3 separate regions of the Homo sapiens genome follow, and regions 1 and 3 are each linked to region 2. Evidence: promoter capture Hi-C in human tissues and cell types (Jung and others, 2019). All regions are on one chromosome and are shown on one strand. Each heading gives the region's core, a stretch centred on a gene start or on the middle of the fragment in contact. The rest is flanking DNA. Distances are from core to core; before and after follow the strand shown. Region 1 has its middle 14 kb from the start of TINCR. Region 2 holds the start of PTPRS (protein tyrosine phosphatase receptor type S). Region 3 has its middle 17 kb from the start of TINCR.

Region 1 (3,799 bases), core at 1,035-3,534, 210 kb after region 2:
CTGACCCTGACACCCATTAGGCTCAGCAAATTACCAAGGCTGTACTGCTGCAAAGCTTCACAGACAGCCCCCATTACTTCAATCAAGCACAAATTTCTTCCTCATCTGTTACCTATCTCGGCATAATTCTCAAAAACACACGTGCTTTCCCTGCCAATCGTGTCCGACTGACCTCTCAAACCCCAGCACCTACAAAACAACAACTCCTTTCCTTCCTAGGCATGGTTAGCGTGGTCGGAATTCTTACACAAGAGCCAGGACCACACCCTGTAGCCTTTCTGTCCAAACAACTTGACCTTACTGTTTTAACCTAGCCCTCATGTCTGCGTGCAGCGGCTGCTGCTGCTTTAATACTTTTAGAGGCCCTCAAAATCACAAACTTTATCAGTCCTCCAGGCCCAAGTTGACTCTTTAGCTGCAGTTGTCCTCCAAAACCACCGAGGCCTTGACTGACTTACTGCTGAAAAAGGAGGACTCTGCATATTCTTAAATGAGGAGTGTTGTTTTTACCTAAATCAATCTGGCCTGGTGTATGACAACATAAAAAAACTCAAGGATAGAGCCCAAAAACTTGCCAACCAAGAAAGTAATTACGCTGAACCCCCTTGGGCACTCTCTAATTGGATGTCCTGGGCCCTCCCAATTCTTAGTCCTTTAATACCCATTTTTCTCCTCCTTTTCTTCAGACCTTCTATCTTCCGTTTAGCTTCTCAGTTCATTGAAAACCGTATCCAGGCCATCACCAATCATTCTATACGACAAATGTTTCTTCTAACATCCCCACAATATCACCCCTTACCACAAGACCTCCCTTCAGCTTAATCTCTCCCACTCTAGGTTCCCACGCCGCCCCTAATCCCGCTCGAAGCAGCCCTGAGAAACATCGCCCGTTCTCTCTCCATACCACCCCCCAAAAATTTTCGCCGCTGCAACACTTCAACACTATTTTGTTTTATTTGTCTTATTAATATAAGAAGGCAGGAATGTCAGGCCTCTGAGCCCAGGCCAGGTCATCGCATCCCCTGTGACTTGCACGTATACATCCAGATGGCCTGAAGTAACTGCAGATCCACAAAAGAAGTAAAAACAGCCTTAACTGGTGATATTCCACCATTGTGATTTGTTCCTGCCCCACCCTAACTGATCAATGTACTTTGTAGTCTCCCCCACCCTTAAGAAGGTTCTTTGTAATTCTCCCCACTCTTGAGAATGTACTTTGTGAGATCCACCCCTGCCCACCAGAGAACAACCCCCTTTGACTGTAATTTTCCATTACCTTCCCAAATCCTATAAAACGGCCCCACCCCTATCTCCCTTCGCTGACTCTCTTTTCGGACTCAGCCGGCCTGCACCCAGGTGAAATAAACAGCCATGCTGCTCACACAAAGCCTGTTTGGTGGTCTCTTCACATGGACACGCATGAAACCTACTGTGTACTTTGCTTTCTTTGCTCTTGGTGATTCCCCAAAAAACTTATCTCAACATATAAGGATTTTTCTTTTCTTTTTTTTTTTTTGTTTGAGACGGAGTCTCGCTCTGTCGCCCAGGCTGGAGTACAGCGGCGCGATCTCGGCTCACTGCAAGCTCCGCCTCCCGGGTTCACGCCATTCTCCTGCCTCAGCCTCCGGAGTAGCTGGGACTACAGGCGCCCGCTGCCACGCCCGGCTAATTTTTTTGTATTTTTAGTAGAGATGGGTTTCACCGTGTTAGCCATAATGGTCTCAATCTCCTGACCTCATGATCCGCCTGCCTTGGCCTCCCAAAGTGCTGGGATTACAGGCGTGAGCCACCGCGCCCGGCTGTTTTTTTTTTTTTTTACTTGCCTTTTTCCAAATGAGAAAACCAAGGCTCAGAGAGGTCAGTGGTGCAATCTCGGCTCACAGCAACTTCCGCCTCCCGGGTTCAAGGGATTCTAGTGCCTCAGCCTCCCAAGTACCTGGGATCACAGGCATCCGCCATCACACCCAGCTAATTTTTGTATTTTTAGTAGAGACAGGGTTTCGCCATGTTGTCCAGGCTGGTCTCGAGCTCATGACCTCAGGTGATCCGCCCACCTTGGCATCCCAAACTGCTGGGGTAGGATTTTCTTTTTTACTTCCCTTTTTCCAAATGAGAAAACCAAGGCTCAGAGAGGAAGAGCGTGTTGCCCCAAGTGGCCCAGCAGAGCCACAGCCTTGCCCCCAGCAGCTCTGGCTCTAATGCATTCCAGACTCCTCCCATCAGCCAACTGCCTCCCATCCTCTAATAAACTTCTGAGAAGCGCTGGGCAGATGCAGTGGCGCCCACGCTCTTTATCTGCCCAGATCAGGCCGGCTCAGCAGAGCAGTCGATAATTAATTCTGAATTCTCCCCATTTATCACGGCGGCAGGAGCCAGAGTGCCTGGAATCCCAATCCCAAACCTCCGTGCCCCTTGGTCACCTGGACCAAGGCCCAGTGGTGGCAGGAACTATGGTGGAGAGGGGGCCTCATTGAGCCTGGGAAGGGAGCAAAGGTGTTCCTGGCTCCCCACCGCTCCCTGGCGCTGGGTTATTAAACGCTGTGTACTGCAGCAGTGACCAAACCAGACCTCTTCCCCGTCTTCATGGTGCCCACAGGCTAGTGGGGAAAACATACATTGAATGAATAATAATATAAATAATTAATGCTACAAAGGAAAAGAACAAGATGTTGTGAGAATACAAAACAACAGGAACATAACTTGTTTTGGGGGCCTCCCCAAGGAAGTGACATTGAACCTGCAAATCACAGGGTGAAAGGTGAAAGGTTGGGAGAGGGTATTTCATATACAGAAATAGCCCATGCAGGCTGGGTGCGGTGGCTCACAGCACTTTGGGAGGCCAAGGCGGGCGGATCACCTGAGGTCAGGAGTTGAAGACCAGCCTGGCCAACATGGTGAAACCCCGTCTCTACTAAAAATACAAAAATTAGCAGGGCATGGCGATGTGTGCCTGTAGTCCCAGCTACTCAGGAGGCTGAGACAGGATTCTCACCTCCTGGTTCGCTTGAACCCAGGAGGTGGAGGTTGCAGTGAGCTAAGATAGCGCCATTGCACTCCAGCCTGGGCAACAGAGCTAGACTCTGTCTCAAAAAAAGAAAAAAAAGAAAGAAAAGAAAAGAAATAGCCTGTGAAAAAAACCTTGTGGCTGGAGCCCAGCAAGGGGTTTAGTAGGTCTGAAGCTTAAAGCACAAGTGTGAGGTCAGTGCCAAGTCAGGGGACCTCAGGGCCAGGCCTGGAGCCCTCATAGTGAGGCCAGCAGCCTTCAGTGGATAGCCAGGGGCCACCAAGGAAAGAGATGGATAAGTTTCCGTGATGCTCCAAGGGGTGGTAGTGAGGCTGCTTCTGCCCCAGGTGCATCACCCTGCAAGGTCAGTGGTCGGCTCTGTGTTGTTTTTTTTTTTTTTTTTTGGTTTGTTTGTTTTTGAGACGGAGTCTCGCTCTGTTGCCAGGCTGGAGTGCGGTGGCGTGATCTTGGCTCACTGCAACCTCCGCCTCTCGGGTTCAAGCAATTCTGCCTCAGCCTCCCAAGTAGCTAGGACTACAGGCGCCTGCCACCACGCCTGGCTAATTTTTATATTTTTAGTAGAGACAGGGTTTAACCATGTCGGCCAGAATAGTCTCGATCTCTTGACTTCGTGATCTGCCCGCCTCAGCCTCCCAAAGTGCTGGGATTACAGGAGTGAGCCACTGCGCCTGGCCGGGTTTTTTTTTCTTTCTTATGACTGTTTTCCTTTTTGAGGGTTCTTTCAAATCCATTTGGGCACGGGGGTTAGTCAGGATTTGTCTGCCAGCAAACACC
Region 2 (3,828 bases), core at 407-2,906:
ACCCCATGCTCAGAAGGGGGCTCCCCTAGATTGTGACGGGGGGGGACAGGGGAATCCCAGCTGAGCCCAGAAGGGGGAGGCAAGGCACCCCCAATGAGGCTCTGGGAGGTTTGTTAATTTGGGGGAATGAGGTCCCAGGAGGTGGCTGGATTTGAGGAAGGGTTGCAGAGGAAGGGGCGTTCTTGGAAGCTGCATATTTAGGGAGACGAGAAGACGATTTGAGACTGGGGAAAGAGGGTCAACCGAAGAAGGAGGTCCCAGATTTGGGGCGGGGGGTGTGGCTGAAAAAAAGATTCCCAGTTTGTGGGAAAGGTTCCCTGATTTGAGGATTCTGGAGAGAAAGCGGCCGAAGGGGAGTTCCCCAATTTGGGAAGGGGGGGAATTGGTGGGAAATGTCCAGGATTTGTAGGGGGAGGTCCGAAGGGGAGGATCTTAATTTTAGGAGAGATTCCCATAAAGAGAGGTGAACTTGGCCGCAACCTGGCCGAACCCTCGCACCCACGGCGCGGGCACTCTAACCTGGGGGGCTCCCCTCAGGGCACGCCCCGCGCCCCCTTTAACCCAGTGCCGACGGCCCCGCCCCCGGTATGACGTCACCTCCCCTCCCCCCGCAGCCCCCGGGGGCTCCCGGGGCGTGCGGAACCCGCGGGGCTGGCGGTTCCAGGGGCGGCTTCCCCACTCTCGGGATCCCCACGGGGCCCCCAGCGCGGAGGGGAGACTGGGGTGCTGGGCGTGCGCGTCTGCCTGCCAGAGCCCCTGGGGCTGGGGGCTGAGGCTCGCCCCTGGGTGGGGAGGCTGGAAGGGGGCGCCGAGGCCGCAGAAGGGTGGGGCAATGCCCGAGTGCCGGAGGGGCGACCTCCCATAAGGCAACGACAGGGCCCGGAGTGTTCCAGGGGAGACGGCGTAGACTAGGGGGTCTCCAGGGGAGGGAGACCCGGAGAGGGAAGGCGGCGGGCGCAGCAGCCCTGGAGCCACCCCGCCTGGAGCCACCCGTCCCGGCTCCTCTCCGCTCCGGGGCGCCCGCATGCCCCCCATCCCCCGGCACAGCGCCCCCTGCCTCCAGGACCCGCCCGGGGACCCGGGCCGGGCGCCGCCGGGGCCGGCACCGGCTCCGCACACACGCGCGCCCCCCTCCGCGCCTCTGCCCCGCCCGCAGCCCGGGGTGGTGCAGCCGGCGGCGCTGGGCAGCTTCCAATGCCGCGCTCTGGGCGCTTCCAGCCCAGCCCCCTCCCACGCCGCGGACGAAGCCCCCCCAGCACCCCCTGCCGAGCGCCCCCAGCGCGGCCCCGGCCCTGTCCCTCGGGGCATTGTCCGGGCGCAGCTACCGGGGCGCAGCGGCTGGGCGTGCAACTGGCTGCAGCCGAGCATCCTCCGAGCACAATGGCCGTGCAGGCTTCCCCGGCACAAAGCCGGCGCGCTGCCCACTCGGCTGCCTCCGAGACCCCCCTTGGAGCGCCTGCATTTTTTTTTCCTCTAATCCATGATTTTATTTTTTTTTTTGGCTTTACCTGGAGGCTGGCTGGGCTGGGCTCCCCCGGCTCTGCCCCGCTTCACATCGTGGCTGTTGCATGGGATCCGAGCGGAGCCCGAGCGCCAGCGGCTCGCGGCGTGCGCGCGCCGGCCGGGCTGCCGGGCGGGCGGCGCGAGGACACTCACTGCGGCTCGCGCTCCCCTAGCTCCCGCTCGCGCGCCCCCCCAGCCGGTGACGTCATCCCTTCCGCCAGCGCCGCCGCCGCCGCCGCCGGGTCGGGGGCAGGGCCGGCCCGTGCGCGTCACTGCGCAGCCGCGCGGCCGCCACGCCCCCCGGCCAATGGGACGGCGCAGCGCGGTCACGTGGCTCCGGGGTGTTTAAAGGGCCGCGGGAGCACGTGGGGCGCGGGGCTTCGCGGGACACGTGGGCGGCTGGGGTGGTGGTGGTGGTGGCGGCTGCGGCGGCGGCGGGAAGGGCCCCTGGGGCTACTGTCCGTGCGGGAGCCCCAGCGTCCTGGGTGCAAAGGGCATGGCACTTTCTGTGCGCTGCCCTAAACTGTGCCACGGCTCCCCAGTACCCTTGGAATAAAATCCCGCCTCCTCTCTGCAGCTCGCCGTTTCACATTAGCGCCCACTACCCTGTCCCCTCCCCCCCACCATGTCAATGATCCAGAAAAACCAGCTGCTCCTTCTTTGCTTTTTCAGAGATGGGGTCTGCCACCTGGGCCTCAGTACAGTGGTATGATCATAGCTCACTGCAGCTTCAAACTCCTGGGCTCAGGTGATCCTCCCGCCTCAGCCTCCTGAGTAGTTGGGCTCGGGTGATCCTCCCGCCTCAGCCAGCTTCTTACAGTTCCTCTAACTTGAGCATCCAAGAACTTCCCCTTCTCATCTTTCCAATTTCTGCTCAAATAAGCAGCGCCTGGGAGAAGCCCTCCCTGACAACAGCTACCAGCCACGCCCCACTCCACTCTATCCCATTATCCCGGTTTGTTGTTGTTGTTGTTGTTTGTTTGGTTTTGAGTCGGAGTCTCACTCTGTCGCCCAGGCTGGAATGCAGTGGCGTGATCGCGGCTCACTGTAACCTCCGCCTCCTGGATTCAAGCTATTCTCCTGTCTCAGCCTCCGGAGTAGCTGGAATTACAGGCGTGCTGTCACCACGCCTGGCTAATTTTTGTATTTTTGTTAGAGACAGTGTTTCACCATGTTGGCCAGGCTGGTCTTGAACTCCTGACCTCAGTGATCCGTCCACCTCGGCCTCCCAAAGTGCTGGGATTACAGGCGTGAGCCACCGCGCCTGGTCCCATTATCCCGTTTTTATTCTAGTTACACTACAGTGTGGCTCCAGAGATCCCTATTGTAGGTTGAACACATGAATGAATGGATGATGGAGCACTTCTTATAGAGTAAGCACTTTACACAGGTCTCACCTAATTACCATCCCCTGCTTCCCTGGAGTCAGGACGAGCCACAGTTGGAACCCAGCTAAAACACTGATTTGCTGTGTGAGGCCCGGAGCCTCACTTTCCCCATCTGTAGAATGGATTTGCCTCTGGATCTCAGCTCTCATCTGTAAAATGGGGCAAGGTAGCCCCTGCTCCTAAGGAGGGTGTGATGATGAATTGCTATAATGTGGCAGCCTGGCTGCCATTGGTGCCTGAAGATGGAATAATAAGAGAAAAGAGGCCGGGCCCGGTGACTCATGCCTGTAATCCCAGCACTTTGGGAAGCCAAGGTGGGCAGATCACTTGTCAGGAGTTCGAGACCAGGCTGGCCGACATGGCGAAACCCCATCTCTACTAAAAATACAAAAATTAGCCGAGCGTGGTGGCAGGTGCCTGTAGTCTCAGCTAGTTGGGAGGCTGAGGCAGGAGAAACTCTTGAACCCGGGAGGCGGAGGTTGCAGTGAACCAATATCACACCACTGCACACTCTAGCCTGGGCGACAGAGTGAGACTCTCAAAAATAAGGAAAAAAAACAGAGCGGAAGTAAATAAAAGGGGGATATTGACAAAGGTAAGGGGGTTGGAGGGCTCACAGCCACCAAGCAAGATTGCACATCAGTCCTTGTGTTTTGATCATGTCGAAAGCATTTATTTCCTCAAGGCACATATTTGGAGAAGGCCTGGTGCCCAACAGAGGAACTCAACTTTAGAATTGGTTTTTTTTTTCCTCCAAAATTGTTGATTCATTCATTCCAGGCCACAGATGCAGATAAACAAAAAGCATTAACCCGGGGAACAAAACGATAAGGCGGAAGTCATAAACAGGAGAAAAGAGAGGAGATAATGAATAATTTAACAAGGAACCTAATTTAAGCTTGGAGTTTCCCAGCGGCCAGTGCAGCAGCCACGTTTG
Region 3 (3,732 bases), core at 41-2,540, 240 kb after region 2:
TCGTATGACCAGGTAGGAACAGCCTCACCTCTCCCGTGGGTCACTGGGACTCAAGGAAGCCCTGCCCCTCAATCCGGCAAACCTGTTAAAAGGCACGGCATCCCCGTTAAACGTCGACTTTATGGTTGTTGGGTTTTTTTGGAATCAAAAGGCCCTGTTCTAACTTTGCCTTTGAAATTATGTGACTAGGAGTCATGCATGCAATTTGAGACTGGCAATCATCGTGGAGGCTTGGGAGTTCCTTGGGAATAAGAAAATCTAACCTAGGAGCTGTTTTGAAATGTAATGAAATCTTTATGAATACAAAATTTAGCAATTGGTGAAGTTGACACATTTTGTAGCTGTGGAGACATTTCGTAAGGTCTTAATTCTACTTTTTCTTTCTTTTTTTTTTTTTTTTGAGATGGAGTTTCGCTCTTTCACCCGGGACTAGAGTGAAGTGGCGCGATCTCGGCTCACTGCAACCTCCGCCCCCCAGGGTTCAAGAAGTCTCCTGCCTCAGCCTCTCGAGTAGCTGGGATTACAGGCACCCACCACCATGCCTGGCTAATATTTGTATTTTTAGTAGAAATGGGGGTTTCCCCATGTTGGCCAGGCTGGTCTCGAACTCCTGACCACAGGTGACCTACCCGCCTCAGCCTCCAGAAGTGCTGGGATTCGAGGCATGAGCCACCGCGCCAGGCCATAAGGTCTTAATTCTGATTCTGCTGTTTTCTTTCTGTATGGCTGGAGCTGGTCATTTCCTCACCGGGACCCCCTCCAGACCTCTGGCATTGCATTTCGCCAGGGCCCCTGTGAAACATGAGCACCCGAGGCTCTATTCCTGTAGGGCTCCCCAGGGCCTGCCAACATGTATTAAGCATTTACTGTATGCCAAGCTTTTTATGTGGATTAACTAATCTTTGTAAAGATCCCATATGGCAACTACAATGATTACTCCCTCCTTCCAGTTAAAGCAGCTAAAGCAGACAGTAATGACCTGCCCGTGGGCAGGCAGGTAGTGAGAAGGCTGGGTGCCAGGCAGTTGGCTCCTAAACTTGCTCTCAAGAAGCTCCCTGTTTCTGCCCCAGTGGCTCTCATTCCCGTGATGCCCCCACAGCTCCCCCTCCCCTTTAAAAATGTCTTTAAAACGATGGGAAATGATACATAACAAAATTCACCACCAAATGGTATACCAAGGCCAGGCATGGTGGCTCATGCCTGTAGACCTAGCAACTTGGGAGGCCAAGGTGGGAGGATGGCTTGAGCTCTGGAGTTCGAGGCTGCAGTGAGCTATGATCGCGCCACTGCATTCCAGCCTGGGAGACACAGCGAGACCCTGTCTCGTAAAAAAGGGGAATTGGAATCTTCATATAGTGCTAGTAGGAATGTATAATGGTACCACCACTGTGGAAAAGTCTGGCTATACTTCCAGAAATAAAACACAGGGAGTTACAAAGTCAGCATAGGACCCAGCAATCCCAGTCCCAGGTATATACACAGGAGAATGGAAAACAGGTGTTCAAACACATACATATCCATAAATGCTCACGGCAGCGTGATTCACACACAACTGCCCAAAGGGGGGAACCACCCACACGTCCATCAGCATCTCCTTTTCATAACACGTATTTTGTTCCACCCACCTTTTCTCTCTTGAAATAAAAGTTGAGTTAATATAACGTACCTATGCTCAATTATTAAAGAAACAGGCCAGGCGCGGTGGCTCACGCCTGTAATCCCAGCACTTTGGGAGGCCGAGGTGGGCGGATCACTTGAGGTCAGGAGTTCGAGACCAGCCTGGCCAACATGGTGGAACCCCGTCTCTACTAAAAATACAAAAATTAGCTGGGCGTGGTGGCAGGCACCTGTAATCCCAGCTACTTGGGAGGCTGAGGCAGGAGAATCGTTTGAACCTGGGAAGCGGAGGCTGCAGTGAGCCCAGATCCTCGCCACTGCACTCCAGCAGTGACAGAGTGAGACTGTCTCCAAAAAAAAAAAAAAAAAAAAAGGAGGGGGGGGGGAACCAGGACACAAACACGCTTGCAGGAAGAAGGCCACATGATGAGGATGGAGGCCGAGACTGGGCAATGTTTTTACAAACCAAGGAATGCCCAGAGGTGCTCGGCAGCTGTCAGAAGCCAGGAGGCTCAGGACGGAGCCTGGGAAGGACACAGCCCTGCCCACACCCAGATCTCAGACTCCTGGCCTCAAGAACTGAGAGCCAATGAGCTTCCTTAGGCAGTCTATGGTGCTTTGTGACAGCCGTCCTGGTAACTCGAGTGCTTTGTTTCTGCGTGGAACAGAGCTGGTTCCAGGCCCGGCTCGTTGGAAAGGGCAGGGCTCTTCTGCCCCCATAGGATGTCCAGTGGGACTGGTTCCCTTTCCAGCTCCCATAGAGCAGCCTGGCAGTGGTTGAGCCCCTGCTTCATAGTTCAGGAGGCCACACCCACCTCCAGGAAGGGGTGCTCCGTGACATCTGAGACACCGAGGTCTGAAAACAGGGCCTGCTCCCAATCCCAGGCTGCCTCCTCAACGCAGGCTAAGCCTGCCTTTTATTGCCCAACAGGGAAGCTCTCAACCCCAATTTCTAGACTCTGGCTCGTCGGGGAGACAGGCAAGCCGCGAAGACCCCATGTGCAACACAGAGGCGGCGTGGCGCCCAGTCCACCTGCCACTGGAAAATGACTCCAGAAGCCGCCACCGTGGGGGAGGCTCCGGAATGCGTTCACGGCAGCTCAGGCCCAGACAGGACGCCGAGGGCCAGGGCCAACCTGCCTTTCATGCTCTGGTGTCTGTGGCAAGCTGGGCTGGATTTTAACATGGCTTTTTAAAAACTTAACTTCCCAGCGGGGGCGGGGGGAACTCCAGCAGAACCGGCAGTTGGAGGAGGGGCCTGCGGGTGGCTGTCCTAGATACGGAGGGGAGGAAAAGAGGTCCCCAGCAGGTGGCCCTGCCAGTTAACTCTCACCACACCACACCGGGCTGGGCTGCCCCTCCCGCCGAGAGGGCACTAGGCCAACCCCATGCACCATCCTCTGCCCCAAGATGCCTGCAGCCCCTACCCCTGGCCAGCACCAGCTCCGCTCATGCACCAGCAGTTCTGAACAGAACAGCTGTGCCTCACAGTGGCCGGCCCCTGGAGGGCCCTGGCACGGAGGGCTGCGCGCATGGGCCGGCAGCCTGCGGGCTACCCCGGCCAGCGAAGTGCCTCATCTGGCACAGTCTTTAAGGAAGAAAATGGGCATCACACTCAAATGCACTTTTGCAGACAAATGGACATTTCCAGAAGAACGGAGGGACCAGTTCTACCACGTGGGCCCATCACCGAGTCAGCGCCATCCCACTCCTAACCAGCTGCTGGCAGCAGACACTGAGCAGGACACACTTGGCAGCCAGGGGAGGGGCGGGCCCACCACACACGGACCCTCCCTGACAGAGCCCACCACACACCAGCATGGGACACAGCCCCAGACTGAGGTGGCAGGGGGAGGGCTCCCCAGGGCCTGGCACGCCCTCACCACTACCCACGCAGAGACAGGCTCGGGGTAAAGGGATTGGTCTGAGGGCCCTATGGTGCACAGCACCCCCTGAAGAATTCCTAGTTCCCATGGGCTGACTCCCCAGCCTCAGTTTCATCCCATGATGGGAACCCGGACAGCCCACTTCCTGAGGTGGTTATGACAACTCAGCAGGATGATGCAGGCAAAAGACTTTGGCAGCACCTGGCAGAGCCAACAGTCACCATGTGGT

Evidence for each region. The method cuts DNA at HindIII sites, captures the fragments that hold promoters and counts their contacts. A contact is called where the count stands out against the background at its distance.
Region 1: a fragment that was not itself captured here is called in contact with the fragment with the promoter of PTPRS in region 2 in 1 of the 25 tissues and cell types used here (neural progenitor cells).
Region 3: a contact is called between a fragment that was not itself captured here and the fragment with the promoter of PTPRS in region 2, in 2 of the 25 tissues and cell types used here (IMR-90 fibroblasts and neural progenitor cells).

Annotation. Positions count from the first base shown.
Region 1 is chr19:5,551,788-5,555,586 of GRCh38, forward strand. No RefSeq gene overlaps it. Among named protein-coding and RNA genes, the nearest start is that of TINCR, 14 kb to the right of the region's middle. The HindIII fragment of the contact is 4,976 bases long and covers 1-3,799 here.
Region 2 is chr19:5,339,156-5,342,983 of GRCh38, forward strand. PTPRS (protein tyrosine phosphatase receptor type S) reads right to left here and starts at 1,657. Exons shown (of 38, transcript NM_002850.4): 1 at 1,509-1,657. RefSeq lists a silencer at 1,585-1,864. The HindIII fragment of the contact is 6,208 bases long and covers 1-3,828 here.
Region 3 is chr19:5,583,187-5,586,918 of GRCh38, forward strand. No RefSeq gene overlaps it. Among named protein-coding and RNA genes, the nearest start is that of TINCR, 17 kb to the left of the region's middle. RefSeq lists enhancers at 2,653-2,712, 2,692-2,986, 2,732-3,026, 2,881-3,732. The HindIII fragment of the contact is 4,461 bases long and covers 1-3,521 here.